Linked DNA regions of Homo sapiens: regions 2, 3 and 4 are each linked to region 1. Evidence: promoter capture Hi-C in human tissues and cell types (Jung and others, 2019). All regions are on one chromosome and are shown on one strand. Each heading gives the region's core, a stretch centred on a gene start or on the middle of the fragment in contact. The rest is flanking DNA. Distances are from core to core; before and after follow the strand shown. Region 1 holds the start of SH3GL2 (SH3 domain containing GRB2 like 2, endophilin A1). Region 2 overlaps SH3GL2 (SH3 domain containing GRB2 like 2, endophilin A1). Region 3 overlaps SH3GL2 (SH3 domain containing GRB2 like 2, endophilin A1). Region 4 overlaps SH3GL2 (SH3 domain containing GRB2 like 2, endophilin A1).

The links. Contacts are between HindIII fragments. The study calls those that stand out against the background at their distance.
Region 2: a fragment that was not itself captured here is called in contact with the fragment with the promoter of SH3GL2 in region 1 in 2 of the 25 tissues and cell types used here (IMR-90 fibroblasts and dorsolateral prefrontal cortex).
Region 3: a contact is called between a fragment that was not itself captured here and the fragment with the promoter of SH3GL2 in region 1, in 2 of the 25 tissues and cell types used here (H1 embryonic stem cells and dorsolateral prefrontal cortex).
Region 4: a contact is called between a fragment that was not itself captured here and the fragment with the promoter of SH3GL2 in region 1, in 2 of the 25 tissues and cell types used here (dorsolateral prefrontal cortex and mesenchymal stem cells).

What each region holds. Positions count from the first base shown.
Region 1 is chr9:17,576,791-17,580,881 of GRCh38, reverse strand. SH3GL2 (SH3 domain containing GRB2 like 2, endophilin A1) reads right to left here and starts at 1,816. Exons shown (of 9, transcript NM_003026.5): 1 at 1,595-1,816. The coding sequence starts at 1,639. RefSeq lists a silencer at 2,806-3,004. The HindIII fragment of the contact is 4,711 bases long and covers 1-4,091 here.
Region 2 is chr9:17,693,893-17,697,983 of GRCh38, reverse strand. All of the region lies in intron 1 of SH3GL2 (SH3 domain containing GRB2 like 2, endophilin A1), which reads right to left. Among named protein-coding and RNA genes, the nearest start is that of SH3GL2, 120 kb to the right of the region's middle. The HindIII fragment of the contact is 4,547 bases long and covers 1-4,091 here.
Region 3 is chr9:17,671,592-17,675,682 of GRCh38, reverse strand. All of the region lies in intron 1 of SH3GL2 (SH3 domain containing GRB2 like 2, endophilin A1), which reads right to left. Among named protein-coding and RNA genes, the nearest start is that of SH3GL2, 95 kb to the right of the region's middle. The HindIII fragment of the contact is 4,998 bases long and covers 1-4,091 here.
Region 4 is chr9:17,647,732-17,651,822 of GRCh38, reverse strand. All of the region lies in intron 1 of SH3GL2 (SH3 domain containing GRB2 like 2, endophilin A1), which reads right to left. Among named protein-coding and RNA genes, the nearest start is that of SH3GL2, 71 kb to the right of the region's middle. The HindIII fragment of the contact is 5,181 bases long and covers 1-4,091 here.

The sequences.
Region 1 (4,091 bases), core at 567-3,066:
AAAAGAAATCTTTAGAATCCAAGTGGAAAAAAGATGTGTTGGTAAACGCAGTGCTGAGATATGCTATAGAGAAGTGACCAGTAGAGCAATCAAAAAGGTTAGTAATATCGAAGAAGTCCTGCCACAGAATTCCTGGGCAGCACATATGCTTGGTTCTGTAAACCTGAAAGAACTTGCAGTATAAAGTTATTAGAAGCCTTCCAAACTACATCAACAAACAAATCACTTACTTTCATAAACATGTCTGGCAGAGAGGTCACAGATAACTCCAATTATAATAGAAAAGCAAAAATAATTACATTAAGAAACATTTTTACAGAAATAGTCTTACTTTTCTTGATTTCCTAAGTTGACAGGTATAATTGATTCTATAAAGGCAAGAATGTGTGATGAAGATGATGCAGATGCGTGCAAACACACACACGACGGGAATTACATGCTGCATCTGTCACCCTAAGTTAACCAAGGTTCTGTAAAACACAACCCTCACCTTTTCTGGATGTGGTTCATAACAAGGCTGCCACTGTGGTAGCCTAGGAAAAACCTCACTACTTCCGAGAAATTATGAGAAAGCTCGTTAATTAAGGCTAACCTATGAAAAACTATTTAACACCAAATCATGAAAAACATTTCGCGGTAAGTCATCAAAATCCTTAAAGATCCCATAAATTTGAACCTATTTCAGAAGGATAAAAAAGTAGTAATCACACACATTATGTAAGAAATAGGTCACAGCGTAAGTATTCGCTTACTTGCCCCTATGTAAAATTCTTTGAGTCCAATGATTTTAATTATTAGAATCTAAATTAATCAGTTTTATTACAGTCACAGCTTATTAACCCCATAAAGAAAAATGGGCACATCCAAGATGCCAAAGATTTATTAAAAACAATTTAAAATACATGATGATTTTAAGTCTTCAACAATTTGGTTGTTTTAGGGAAATATTTAAGACCCGCAGACTGTTTGTCATGCCCTGGCCTCAAAGGAGTTTCACGACCGAGTTCTCCAGGTAAAAGTTAATGTATGCGGGTCCCTAAAGGAAGACCCCAGCCTTCCATTCCCCTGGAGCCTGCGGGCGGCGGGGAAGGAGGGTTCTGACAACAGGGTAAGGGAGAGGAGCGCAAACCGCCGGCCTCCGCCCCGCCACCCCCAGTGCGGCCACCGCTCATGCCAACACATCCCGGGAAAGCCGGGTGCACCGACTCCGCAAGGTCACCCGTGAAGAGGCGACTTTACATAATCTCCCACCGCGCCGCCAAGGCACCTGCGCGCCGCGGCAGCAGTGCAGCCGCGGTCCCCTTCCTGCAGCACGGGCGCGAGATGATGCGGGGGCGGCGAGCAGCGCTACCAGGCAGGACGCCGGGGACCCGCGGGAAGGCAGCGCGCACCAAGCCGGGGGCGGGGGACCGAGGGTGGACGCCCAGACCGGGGATGCCCCGAGCCGCCGCCTTGGCTTGCGAGGCGGGGCGCGGCCGGCGCGGGCGAGGCTCGGTGCCGAACTCCCCAAGCTGCCGCCGGACGGCCAGCGCCGAGCGCGCCCCTCGCAGCTTCGCCCCGGACTGCCCCGGGACGCACCTGCCGCGCGCCTTACCTGAGTGGCTTTATGGAACTGCTTCTTGAGGCCGGCCACCGACATGGTGCAGGAGGCCGCGCTGGCGGCTGCTGTGCGGGAGGGAGGAGGCGGAGGGGGACTGGAGGGCCGAGCGGGGCGGCGCGCTCCCCTGGCCGCCTCTGGTCGTGCCGCCGCCGGGGCTATGGGCGCGAGGGCGCGGAGCCTAGCGGGACACGGGCTCTTGCGGAGAAACACTCTGACGTCAAGGGCGGGTGATGCGGCCTCTTAAAGGGGACGCGGGAAGCCCCGCCCCAAGCGCGGGAACGCCCAGGCAGGTGCTGTGGCGCGCGGTACCTGGATGCTGGCGCCAACTGCGGGGATGTGGCTCAGCGGCACCCGCTGGCGGATCCCTAGTCAGCGGGCCGAGGACGTCCTCCTGTCCCGGGGTTGGTGTTCCTGCCCCCGGGGGCTGCGGACGGGTCGCTGCAGATTGGCAGCCCAGGCACCCGCAGGACTCAGGTGACTTGCTGGGCTTCCAGGTAGCCGCGGCGGCGCTGCCTGCAGACGGCCCTCCTGCCCTTTGAGCCTGGCGTCTCTGCGCCGCAGCCTGAAAAAGACTGGCCTTCTATCTGGGCTAATGAATAAGTCATTGCTCCTTCTATGCCTTGCCCTGACTGGTGGGTCACAGAAAACATTTCTCTGCCCTGGTTTCAATATCCCTTAAGCCCATCTTACCTTAGGGAAAGTCACACACGCGTTTTCCCCCTTGTCTGATACAATTTAATGACTTAAAAAGAAGAACAGGAACCCTTAAGCCTGGACGGATAAATAGAATTGAAGTCTTACTACAAAACTAGCGTTCAATCCTCTGGTTACAGAAATGAAAAAGCCCAAATGTGATCTTGTTGTTATGCTTGTGGATTTAGGGTTTCCGGTCCGATAAAAATCAAAATATAATGTGAAAAAGCATGATACTAAGTTATATACAGATGCTTCATATGTAACCAAGGAGGTATGGCTGGCTAAAGTGAAACTAATAGATGACTTGGGAGCAGAGCAGCACTAAATGCCTTCTGTGCTCTGGTACTTAACCAAGTCTGGTTTTTCTAGGACTGAGGAGGTGGTCAGAAAGAACTTAGACGCTGTCCCCGTATGTGGACCAAAGTGATAAGAAGGAGAAGCCAAGATGGGAGAAATTGCCAAGGATGTGTAGAGACTGCAAGGCCAAATGGGAGTCCTAGAAATACTTTTTCTGTCTCCGCAACTCCTGCAGCCTGATAGGAGCCACAGACCCATCCCCACTCTTCTAGGCACTGCGGCTTGGGCACAGGGTGAACACCTGCTACAAAAGGGTCCTCCATCCGTAGAGCTACCAGTCATGGTCCTTCTTGATAATGTGAACTGACACACACAAAGGCAGAGTCAAGCAGTGGTGGGCACTGGAGCAGTAGAGCGCATGGACTAGGGACGCAGGCTGCAAAGGGAGGCAGATGAAAGGAGCTATTCTCCAGTGTGGTAGCCCTTACCACTGTTCATATACCTTTCCCTACATGGCAGAATTGCACTTTCCAAACCTCTTGTTAAGTGGAGGCATGGTTACAAGTTTTGACTAGAGGTTTAAGAGGAAAAGTGACTGTCACTTCTGCAGCAGCAATATGAGATGTATGAGATGCCGCAAAGCTTTCTTTTCCTCGGCCGCAATATTCTAGAAAGCTGTGGTCTGTCAGCCAGTATCCAGAGTGAGACTAAAGCAGTGCAGAGTCCCCACCTGACGTTCAATGGGCATGTAGCATCAGTGAGAAACCTGAGTAATTTTAATCCACTGAGGCTCCGGTTGTTAGGAATAAACTTTTTTCTCTATGTTTCCAATTTTTAAAAAGGCTACCCATTACTTGCATAATAGAAAAAAAAGTATTTTATAGTTAATTTTTACTACCAGGTCCCTGATCTGAACAATAAAGCATTTTCATAAGACAGGGCTTTGTTGAAGCTGCCAAAAGATAGAGCAATTGATCTACAAAGTGGAAGGGCCTGGGATGGATAGGAGCTCTGCTCTCTAACAGTGAAAGGTGTGAAATGGGGGCCTGAATTGCCTCCTTGGAACTTTGAATACTTAACTGAGCCCTACATTATAAAAAAGGCAGTTTCTATCTTTCCCTGGTTCTTCATCCACCAACCTGGAAGTCTCATGCTGCTTAACTTCAAAGAAACTACCTTGGGAGAAAAAAACTACTTAAGGGCATTACATTAAATCCTTTGGAAACCATTGATTTAGTCGCCCAGGCATCCTCTGCACCTCATCTTATATGGTTTGGCTGTGTCCCCACCCAAATCTCATCTTGAATTGTAACTCTCACAATTCCCACGTGTCGTGGGAGGAACCCAGTGGGAGTGATTGAATTATGGGGGTGGGTCTTTCCTACACTGTTCTCGTGGTAGTGAATGAGTCTTACAAGATCTGATGGTTTTAAAAACAGGAGTGTCTAGTTCAACCATTGTGGAAGTCAGTGTGGCGATTCCTCAGGGATCTAGAACT
Region 2 (4,091 bases), core at 717-3,216, 120 kb before region 1:
CGGAACGCAGAAAGTGAATATGCCATCTAAATCTTAGCCCATTTTCTAGCTCCCAGAGATTCAATGCCAGTCTGATTTACTAATTCCCTTCAACCAATATCATGACAATAGAGCAAAGGAGAAGACAAGAAGAATTTAGTAGGCGCAACACAGGCCAAGTCATCAGGGAGAACTGATCATCAGGGTTACAATCCTAGCATTTTCTGCTTCTGCAAAACTATGAGACAGTTTAAATATTCCTTGGTGCATTCCAAGGTTAGGAGTCTAGAAGGCTATTCGGGGGGCAATGATATGGTTTCAGTGACAAAGTTATGTACTAGTGGATGTCTAATGAAGTTGCTAATAGAGGAATTATTAAGACAAAAGACTAAACATGTTGCTTTGCATTCCTCAGGTTATATTTTGAACACATGAGTGGGACTGGCCACTACTCTGACTGGACCTGTATAGAAATGCATTTGAGGCCAGGCACGGTGGCTCACACCTGTAATACCAGCACTTTGGGAGGCCAAGGTGGGCGGATCACGAGGTCAGGAGTTGGAGATCAGCCTGACCAGCATGGTGAAACCCTGTCTCTACTAAAAATACAAAAATTAGCCAGGCATGGTGGCGTGCACCTGTAATCCCAACTACTCAGGTGGCTGAGGCAGAAGAATCCCTTGAACCCGGGAGGCGGAGTTTGCAGTGAGCCGAGATCATGTCACTGCACTCCAGCCTGGGTGAAAAAGTGAGACTCCGCCTTAAAAAAAAAAAAAAGAAATGCATTTGAGCTCATGCTCAAGTTGAAGGTGCAAAGCCAGCTACTAATTCTGAAGAAAGCAGACTATATGTTTGTTAGCAATCAATCTATCCAGCCCTGAGTGCCCGGTTTTCACAGCCCATGTGGCCTCTCTAATACCCTGTGGTGTGAGGGAGCTGATTCTTAAAGAGGAAATGTCAGCCCAGGACAGTATCAAGGTTCCAACACTGGACTTAGTACATCCTCCCAGAAGGGCATCCTTTATTTCTAAGAGGCAATGAGGCTTCTGCATGTTCAGTCTTTAAAAGTCACTCTAAAATAAGAACAAGTCCCAGAAAGTGATGGAAGGTAAGAGGGTTATGGATATGCTATGCATGTGGAGAGCAATTTTGGTTTTAGCATCCACAAAAAATGGGCTATGAAAAATCGAAAAAAGGAAGGGATAATCCAAAGCTATGTGATATGGTTTGGCTGTGTCCCCACCCAAATCTCATCTTCAATTGTAGTTCCCATAATCCCCATGTGTCACGGGAGGGACCCAGTAGGAGGTAATGGAATCATGTGGGCAGTTCCCCCATGCTGTTTTCATTATAGTGAGTGAGTTTTCATGAGATCTGATGGTTTTTTAAGGGGCTTTTCCCCCTTTGCTCGGCACTTCTCCTTCCTACCGCCCTGTGAAGAAGGTGCCTTTCTTCCCCTTCACCTTTTGCCAGGCCTGTAAGTTTCCTGAGACCTCCCCAGCCATGTGGAACTGTGAGTCAATTAAACCTCTTCTGTTCATAAATTACTCCATCTCAGGTATTTCTTCATAGCAGTGTGAGAATGGACTAATATACCATAGTAGTAAAGTGATTATTTGTCTGCTGTAATACATCCAGGAATACTTTCTCTTTGGCTTTGTTTATAAAACCGTTTTCTTCACAGTCAATTAGCTTCAAGGCACAAACATAAATCTGAAATATTCATTACAAAATACAAATGTAATAGTTATCTGTATTTAAAATATCCTTGAGTTATAAAGCTAGATTTTAAAAATGTTCTCTTTAAAAAAGGAAAAAAAAAGTCCTCTTTAGTGTGGACCTCCCTGAGTCCTCCAGCTGCCCCCACTTTGAACAGACTTCAGAACTGGAAAGGACTTGGGTATTACAGAGGGCCTTCACTGAAGGGATGAGAAAAGAGAGGCTCGGGGAAGTTGTGATTTGTATCAGCTTGCAGGACAACTCAGACAACAACACAGCCTGAACTAGAACTATCAGGTCTGCCTTCTTTTGGTCTGCTGTTTTTCTCCCATCATGTCAAGATGCCTTTTAAAAATGCAACATCAGTATAAAAAGGCCTCTATGACTTACTAAGGTCAGAGCTAAGAAATGACCCCAACATTCCCTACCCATGTTCCTCAGATAAAATACCATCCTCCAATTTCAGAGACATCAAGATTTTTTTCACAATGTTTCCATTTTTAAAAAAATCTGGATAGATTTTTCTGTGCTTATTCCTGCCAAGAAGTAATCCACTCCTAGCTCTCTGCATAATAGCTACCCTGACTGAAAAAAAGAGGTTGTGATTATGTAATGGCCATCCAACCCACTACCACCCGGGAGCATCAATACAGAAAGGGCTTTTTACAGAGAAAGTCAGAAGGCCCCAGGCGAGCACAGAGGGAGTGCAGATACCTCCTGGTTACCTCCTCAAAGTTGCCATCTGAGGAGTATATTGAGATCTAAGCAATTGCATTTGTTCCCCTGAGATTATGTGACACCGAAAACCTTACTGACTCAGGGAAAATAATCCACTTACTCCTTATGTGTGCAGAGCAGAGAAGCTACGTGAAGTTTCTAACCCCCTGGAAATAAAAATCTTCAATATTTGCTGACAACCTCAGGCATCTACTCCACTGTGTATGAAGCAGAGGCTAGCTCGTGGGATCCCAAGTTCCTCTCTGATGCTTCCACATGTACCTGTCATCCTAAGAAGTTAAAGGGATCGCATTTCACTTTGAGAAAATGAAAATATCTTGATAAGATATTTCATCTTATGCTACAAGACACCAATAAACACTCCAGAATTTTCACCCACTGAACAAAGCCACAAAAAGCAGCCAGGGGACAGAATGGGATGACATTTCTTACTGACTGTTTTCTAATTATTTTCTTCTCTTGTATTCCCTCCAGTAACTTTTGCAGTGCCTCTTTCCCCTCTAGTGATCTCTGGCTATTTTTATATTCTTTCATAATGATTTATTCATGTCTAGTGAAAATTTTATAATTTTCACTAGATTTCTTCAAATTTCAACATTGTGACTGCTGTGCAAGGTATCACCTAAGTGTGCCACTGCCTCCCCTACTCCATTCCCTACAGAAAAAATAAAAATAAAAATAAAACTCTAGTCTGTAAGCCCCCACTTGTGAAGGTTTTAGTAGGCTCTCTAAATGTGAAGTTTGACATTTAACTCAATTATTTAAATTCTCCAGAGCAATACCTTAAGGAAATCACCATTCCCATTTTACTGGCACATGGAAAATTTAGAAAGAATAGCGGTTTCTCTCACTTTATTTAGAGGTGAATATGTTCATTTCCAACATTCATACCCTCAACTTATACCATTCACACTCTCAAATATTTGCTTGCTTTTCCCTGTCTGTCTTCAGCTCTAGTATTGCAGTGGAAGGGGAAAAATAATGACATTTTATAAATTGAATTCTGAAAGCTAAATGACAGGCAATCCTGTTAGCAGCTTCAGGTACATCAAGTCTAGTATATAGCAAATCCAGCGATCTGGGTATTATAAAAGGCAATTATAGTAGTTGCTTTTACAATAGAACAGTTAAGAAATCCCCCAGAGAAAAAGAACACTTACTTATTAGCATTAAAAAATAGGCAATCAACACCAGACTCTTAGTATATTCCAAGATTTGCTCTCTCTTTCTCTCTCTCCTGCTCCGCCATTGTGAAGATGTGCTTGCTTCCGGTTCACCTTCTGCCATGGTTTTAAGTTTCCTAAGGCCCCCCAAGACAAGCTTCCTGGACAGCCTGTGGAACTGTGAGTCAATTAAGCCTCTTTTCTTCATAAATTACCAGTCTCAGGTACTTCTTTATAGCAGTATAAGAACAGACTAATACAGAAAATTGGTCTCCAATTTCCTTACCAGGATTTTTTCTTTCTGAATAATATGAAAGTTTCCAACTAGAAAAACGAGAGAAGCACTGCCACTAAAAATCTTGAAAAATATTATTAGGCATGGAAGAAAGTAGGAAAATAAAATATAGCGTACACTTCACATAAATTCAGATCATTAATAAGCTTCCTCTTCTCCACTATACATTCAGTAATAAATTCTTTTATCAATAGAAA
Region 3 (4,091 bases), core at 541-3,040, 95 kb before region 1:
GAGCCACTGCACCCGGCCTGGCATTAGCATGTTTATCAGTATATTTCTGACAACAAATAACAGTGCTGGATACAGCATGTCTACATCCTTAAGGCACCTTTTTTACTCTCCCCTCCCTTGCAGAGCAAAGACTTTTGAAGTTCTAGGGAAAAATAACTTCTGTACAACTTAAAGAGTTTTGTAATCAATGCATTCTTTTCAGACAGATACTGATATTACATAAATGCCTGTAATATTAATACATAAAGGAATTTCTTTAGCTTTATGTGAACTTTATCAGTTCACAGCACTACTTTATCTCAAGAAAGATGTTCAGAGCATTAGGTAAATGACTGTCTTTCACTTCCCTGTATACTTGAGTTATTTATTTAATAAGATAATTCACCCCTTAAGTCCTGAATTAAAACCCGCCAAATTTTAAAAATCTGGTATGTGCTATGAGAGATACAAATGTTTATTGCACTGTCTCCTAAGTGAAGGGGAAGATGAGCTCCCAATGTGACCTACTAAGGAAGGAAATAAGACATACGAAGTTTAAAGCATGTGAGATGACTACCACAAAGAAATACCACAACAATGTACAAAAAATGCTCAAAAAGTAGAGACGTCAATTCAGTTCTAGTAAGGTATACTGTGCTGACAGCAACAAACAATCACATTCCTCCCATCCCTGTATGCACACCCCTTGGCAATGTAACCTGGTGGCTCCTCCTATCTAGATGAAGTCTACTCCCCATCCCTTGAATCTGGGCTGGTCTGGTCACTTGCACTGGCCAAGACAATGTTAATGAACTGCCACTGTACACTTCCCGGGCCTGGGCCTCTAAAGACCTTGCAACTTTCACCCTTAGTCTCTTGCTGCTCTGAGACTGCCATGGAAAGAAACCCTGGCCAGTCCCCTTAAGGATGAGAGAGGGAGGCAGAGCTGACAGCCAGCAACAAATTGCCAGAGATGTGAGTAAGGTCATTCTAGACCTTCTACCTTCAGCTGGGCGACCAGATGAATGAGGACCCATGAGTGACCCCTAAAAAGACAAAAAGAAGAAACATCCAGCTGAGCCCAACTCAATCATGAGCCCATGATTTTCCAACAAAATCATGAACAAATAACATGTTCATTGCTTTGGGCAGGCTCACACCTGTAATCCCAGCACTTTGGGAGGCCAAGGTGGGCAGATTGTTTGAGGTCAGGAATTTGACACAGCCTGGGCGATATGGTGAAACCCTGTCCCTACTAAAAAAACAAAAATTAGCCAGGCATGGTGGGCCACACCTGTAGTCCCAGCTACTAAGGAGGTTCAGGCAAAAGAATCGCTTGAACTCGTGAGGCGGAGGTTTCAGTGAGCTGAGATCACACCACTGCACTCCAGCCTGGGCAACAGAGAGAGACTCCGTCTTAAAAAAATAAATAAATAAATAAAATCACACACATACACACAAAATGTTTATTGTTTTAAGCTGCTTAGTTTTGGGGTGATCTGGTGATCTGGTAGTCAGCAATGGATACCCAAGATAAATACAAAGAACATGTTACTAACTCTCATTTGCATTAAAAAGAAAAGGCAAAGACATTTCTTGCCACAATTATGCTGTTAATTCTGCATGCCTCCATAAGGAAGTGCTCAGATCAATTCATAATGATTTCAAGAGCCACACAAGGAAAGAGGGAAACAAAGAGAAATAAAACACAGACCCTCCATTCAAGGAGCTTAAAGATGAATTCAATAAAGTGGGCAAGGATCTATCATAGAGATAGACACAGGATGCCCTATGGAGACCTTAGGGTAGAGTCAATTGACATAATCTGGGATGGCAGCAGATGGGTGAGCAAAAGAAATCAAGGGAGGCACCCTAGAAAAGCCAGAGCAAAGTCTTGAAAGCAAAAGAATTAATAAAGACTCAAGGGTGAGTAAGAAAGAACAGCACAATCACAGGTGAGGGTGTGTGAAGCATTATGGTGGTTTCAGGGAACTAAAAGCAGTTCTGAATTGCTGTATTCTAAAGTTATGTTTGGGGAATGGCAAGACATCAAGATGGACAAGGAGATCATGGCTGGCTAGTAGGTCAAGTCAAAGAGCTCAGACTTTATCCTGCTGGTGACAAAGCATCATCCAAGTGTTTAAAGGGGAACAATGTGGTCAGAAATGTGTTTCTAAAGAAAATCATGGTTGCGTATAGAAGATGGACTTGAGCAGGCAAAGATCAGGGACAGGGAGATGAGTCAAGATCAAAGTGAAGGCCAGGCGTGGTGGCTCATGCCTATAATCCCAGCACTTTGGGAGGCAGGCAGATCGCTTGAGCCTGCATTCGGGACCAGCCTCGGCAACATGATGAAACCCCGCCTCTATAAAAAAAAAAAAAAAATTAAAAACTAGGCATGGTGGTGCGTGCCTGTAGTCCCAGCTACTTGGAAGGTTGAAGTGGGAGGATTGCTTGAGCCCAGGAGGTCAAGGCTGCAGTGAGCCATAATCGCACCACTGCATTCCAGCCTGGGTGACAAAGTGAGACTGTCTCAAAAACAAACAAACAAACAAAAAAAAAGTCAAGGTGAGAGACTCTAAGAGTAGAAGAGAGGGAAGATTTATTAGGGAGGACTATTGAAGCAGAATTGACAGACCATGGCAAACAGCCACGTGTAAGGGTAACAGGGCAAGAAATCAAAGAGCCGAGTGATACTGCCAAATACTACCCAAGACATGACAGAGCAGAGCAGGCAGTAGTCTTCTCTGGAGGAGAAGACAGCTAAGAGATTAATTCACTTTAGACATTTTGAGTTGGGCCTATGAATGTACGAAAATCTAATTCTGAAACAGAATGAGGCTGGAGGTATGCATTTGGAAGTCATTCATATAAGCACAAGAGTTAAAACCACGAACATGGATGAAATCACCCATGGAAAGCTTCTGAAGTAAAAAGAGATGTATTTATATCTGAGAGGTCTAGAAGTTAGTTATTTACACGGTCTGATGAATATACAGAGTGTGTTACTCTGTATCTTTTATAAAATCAATCACTCCTTAGGTCCTCTGTATTGGGTGAAGGGGGTGGGTGGCTCCCAGAAAGAGGGAGAGAAACCATGGCTCTGTTGCAGCTCATTTGCCTCCTGAAGGATTACAGATCAGGATCCCCACATTCACTAAACTAAAGCTTGAAAACTAAATGCCTACTTAAGTCCAGCTAATTTTCAAGATCTATGTACATGCCAGATATTATCTGGGCTCTTTTTCTAAGAAAATTCAGCCACCCTATTCTCTAACCTGAGCTTAATGAGCTCAGGTCAAGGACCTTGGAATTCAGCTGACTATAATGGTTCTTTTAGTCTCTGCTCCATCAATTATTTACATTTAGGGCATCTTAACATGAAGCAAGTGGTACACAGATATGATATTGTGTGTTTGGTTGCCTGGAAACCAAGATTTCTAAAATTTTCCTTTCCTGCTCCCAATTTTAACTATTGCCAAACCACACTACATACATATCTGTATGCACCTTTTTAATTAAATACAAAATAAGCAAATTCAACATCGACAGCTTAAGAATCTTTAAACAATTGTATTTACCTCACACTGCAGAGTAGATTTAGGTCAAAACAAAACATTGAGTTCCAGAGGTCGGTTTCCAATTTAGTTTCATGTAACACACTGGGCTCTGATATTAGTCAGTGGGTAACTGCTAGTTGATTCTACTCTGACTTAAATAGAATTAATTTACTGGTATGGTTTCATTTGTCAAGGTATGAGTACAATCTTTGTTGAGGTAACACAATTATTATGAGACAAGATTAAATACTTAAAGACATACTGATTCAACCAAAGTCCTTATCTCAAGGAAATCAAGTCCTTGGTTGTTGTCTCAAGGCAACGAAGATGTCATTATCAGTTATAAAGGCCATTTATTAAGTTTGTGAAATTACATTTCAGCTTTAATTCTCAGTTTCAACACAGTTAATTATGTGTAGAACAGAGGCACAATACTGCAAAGGTTAGTCAGAGGCTTCTGAAAGTCAAGGGCTTTTTTCGTTTTTGTTTTTTGCTTTTATAATTTTTTTTAGTTTTGTAGGTACATAATAGATGGGTATATGTATGGGGTAC
Region 4 (4,091 bases), core at 529-3,028, 71 kb before region 1:
AGACAAAATAAGAATTTAAAACAAGTTAAGCAATATCAATACTAAAGATGAGGAAATATTGGAAATATGAAAACAACATCTTTAAAGTGCTAAAAGGAAAAAAATGTCATCCTAGAATTCTTTAGCCAACACAAATCTCTTTCAAAATAAAAAGCAAAATAAAGACTTCCTTAAACAGACAAAAGCAGAAAGAATTTATCACCCACAAACTGCTAAAACAAAGATATACAGCTAATAAGGTAATGGAGAACTAACTACACAATTCTGCAAAGCTGTCAAATATAAAACCAATATACACAAAGTGAAGAGTATTCCTCTGCAATAACCAGAAAAAAGGCAAACACAGCATTAATTATAAGAGCAACAAAAACAATACATCTTGGAATTAATCTAACAAAGATCACACAAGATTCTCAAGGAGAAAATGTCAAAACTTTAAAGGACATTTAAAATTCCCTAAATAAATGCAGAAAGAAGATACTCGTGGATGAGATGAGTCAACATTTTAAAGATGTCAAATCCCTGTAAAATTAATTTATAGTCTCAGAGGATTTCCTATTACATCCCATCAGGAATTTGAGGAAGCTTAACAAAGTAAATCTAAAAATATACATGGAGAAAAAAATGGCTTAGACATTTTTTTCAAGAAAATAAAGCAAAAGCTGAAAGTTTACCCTGCCAGATATTAAAATTCATTATGTCTTAGGAATTAAGAACAGTAAAAACTAATGAAAAAACAATAAAAAGCAAAGCCAAGAAACAAAATAGGTGTTCTATGTCTCTCTCACACACACACACCACACATACATGTGTGCACACGTGCAAACACACACACACAAGGAAAAGGGGAGAAACAGAGAAAAGGTCTAGTATGAAATGGTGCCAGAATTCAGCCCTGGGAAAATTCCTATTGTTCTAGCATTAAGGACATAAGATGACCAGTGATGGGCAGAAAACATGTATTTCATAAAACAATAAACTCTCCTAATGCAGCAGAAGGCAGTCTCAAGATGCCCTAAAAAGAATTATCATGAGCAATCTCACAAGTTAATTAATATGTTCACAATAGGAAAGACTGTATAATGTATTCAGGTCGGCTTTAGCCATCATATCACCAATAACATGATTTACAAAAATATGCTTCAGCCATAAAAACCTCAAGACAAGGCCGAGCGTGGTGACTCACGCCTGTAATCCCAGCACTTTGGGAGGCTGAAGCGGGCGGATCAGGAGGTCAGCAGTGGCCAACATGGTGAAACCCTGTCTCTACTAAAAATACAAAAATTAGCCAGGCGTGGTGGCACACGCCTGTAATCCCAGCTACTCAAGAGGCTGAGGCAGGAGAATCGCTTGAACCCGGAAGGCAGAGGTCTCCATGAGCCAAGATTGCGCCACTGCACTCCAGCCTGGGTGACAGAGCGAGACTCCGTCTTAAAAAAAACAAACAAACAAAAAAACTTCAAGTGGATATCACCTCAAATAATCTTCAACCAATCCATACCATGATTATTAAGGCTTGAGAAAGAGGATATATCACGTTCTTTTGTGTACTTCAAACTGTTACAAGGATATCATTTATTTCTAGTTTAAGTAAAATCCTGACAATACTCACATTTCACTTACTTTTTATCAAACACAGCATGTGCAATATTTTATTCCATAACTAAGTTGAGAATCTGAATGTAGATAACATCATCTCAACTGCTGTTCTTAAGTGAAAATTCTAATCAGAGTTGGTATGATCTCAACTCTACTCTCTCCAGGGAAGATATCCTTGTTGGAATATTAGAAATATGTGGAACACTAAATAAAAGCTGGTGGTTATGAAGGCTTTTCTTTTTAGATTAATCAATTTAAAGTTGAGCCATTCTATACTTTTTTTCTAGATAGAACACCTAGATATACTAAACACCATTTCAGTACAAACCTGTCAAATCTCTGAACTGTGATTTTTCTTTGTCACTTCTGTTACAACAGGTGTATAACAAATTGGTTTGACACGTTTATCTGCCAAAATTCAGGCATAGCAAGAAAAACTACTTAGGCTTCTCAGAAAAAGAATATTACATATTTGTATTCAAAATAACTAAAAATATTCACTATTTTCCTCAAACCTGAAATGAGACCTAATACGTGTATTTGCCAAAAGAAAAATTTTGTTGCCTCATTTGCAGTTACTCTAATAAAGCAAACTCCCTTGTGTAAGTTAAATAGGCACATAGTAAACTATTTTTTCCATTTAAAACAGAAAATACGTTTTGTGGTATTTACCAATGCCCTTTTAAATATACTTTGGTAACATCGATTTATCTTTATCATACAATTATGATTTTTTTCACTTAAATTATACTGAAAACAGAGATCCAACCAAATCAGAATGTAGTATTTGTAAGCTAATGTGAGTGGTTTAATTCAGAACACTGGTTTCAATTGTGCCTTTAAAAATGTACGCGATAGGGCAGGTATGGTGGCTCACGCCTGTAATCCCAGCACTTTGGGAGGCCAAGGCAGGTGGTTCGCTTAAGGTCACAAGTTCGAGACCAGCCTAGCCAACACGGCAAAACCCTGCCTCTACTAAAAATACAAAAAATTAGCTGGGTGTTGTGGCACATGCCTGTAATTCCAGCTACTCAGGAGGCGCAGGTTGCAGTGAGCTGAGATCATGTCACTGTCCACTGTGGGTGACAGGGTAAGACTCTTTCTCAAAACAATAATGAAAAATGTACACTAGAGAACCTTACGATTAATCCTTGAGTTAAGAGAAAAAGGAAAAAAAGCCCACATTGACAGACTTATTTTTATACACATGCACTCACACACAACATCATACAGGAAACACAGTTCTATTCAGAGATAGATAAGATCCCTGATGGAACAGTGCTCTTTGTATCTAGGTTTCACCATAATAATTTGGGAAAAAATGATTGATATGATGAGTAGTCTACAGAACTTTGTTTCTAGGTTGCCAGATGTAACTTACACTGTCATCTCTTTCTAGAAGTTGTTTTCATCATTTTCAACCTGAATGAACCAAACATTATCATAGGAAACTCTTTTGAACATTTCACACAGACTTAAGAAAATTATGTGAGATCTGCCAACACAAACATTTAGAATCCTAAGCAGCTATTAGAAAGAAGCCAATGACTCATTTTCTGAGATGCTTTGATTCTGTCAAGTCACTACCTCAGTACATTTTAGAAAATAAATTTATTATAATAATAATGACAACAAGAAAATATTCAAAGGCAACCCTCCTTTTTCAGTGTCTAAAGAATTCATTTACCAATGCTAAGAAATAAACCCTGGATGTTTTTGAGTGAGTTAACTCAGAACAATGGCTTTCCAAAAGATAGACAAAGCCAAACTTCTTTGCCAGGCCTTGAAGATCTGTAAGATTTGGCCCCAAATTCCTTTCCAACCCAACATTTTACTCTTCCTATGTACCTTTGTGTAGATATAAACTGGCTACCTAACAGCGTTAATCTCATCTTTGTACAGCACCTTTGTACATGCATTCCCCTAATCTTGATCATGTTCTTTTCCCTCAAGCACAGATCTCTCTATATACAAGTGGAATCCTTGAACAACATGGAGATTAGGGACATCAATCCCCTTGTGTAGTTGAAAATCCACACATAACTTTTGACCTCTCCAAAGCTTAACTACTAATAGCCTACTGTTAACTGGAAGACTTGCCAATAACACAAACAGTTATGAACACATTTTGTATGTTATATGTATTATATACTGTATTTTTACAATAAAGTAAGCTACAGAAAGAAAATATTAATAAATCACAAGGAAGAGAATATATATTTACTGTCCATTAAATAGAAGTGCATCATCACAAAGGTCTTCATCTTCATCTTCATGTTGAGTAGGCTGAGGTGGAAGAGGAAGGTGGGGGGACTGGCCTCACTGTCTCAAGGGTGGCAGAGGTGGAAGAAAATCTGCATATAAGTGGACCCACACAGTTCAAACGTGTGTTGTTCAAAGTTCAACTGTAAAAATGCTGTCAACTTTCACAGTCCAATTTAAAGGATGCCTCTTTGAGTTGGTGAGTGCTTACATGCCATGCTCCATGCTAA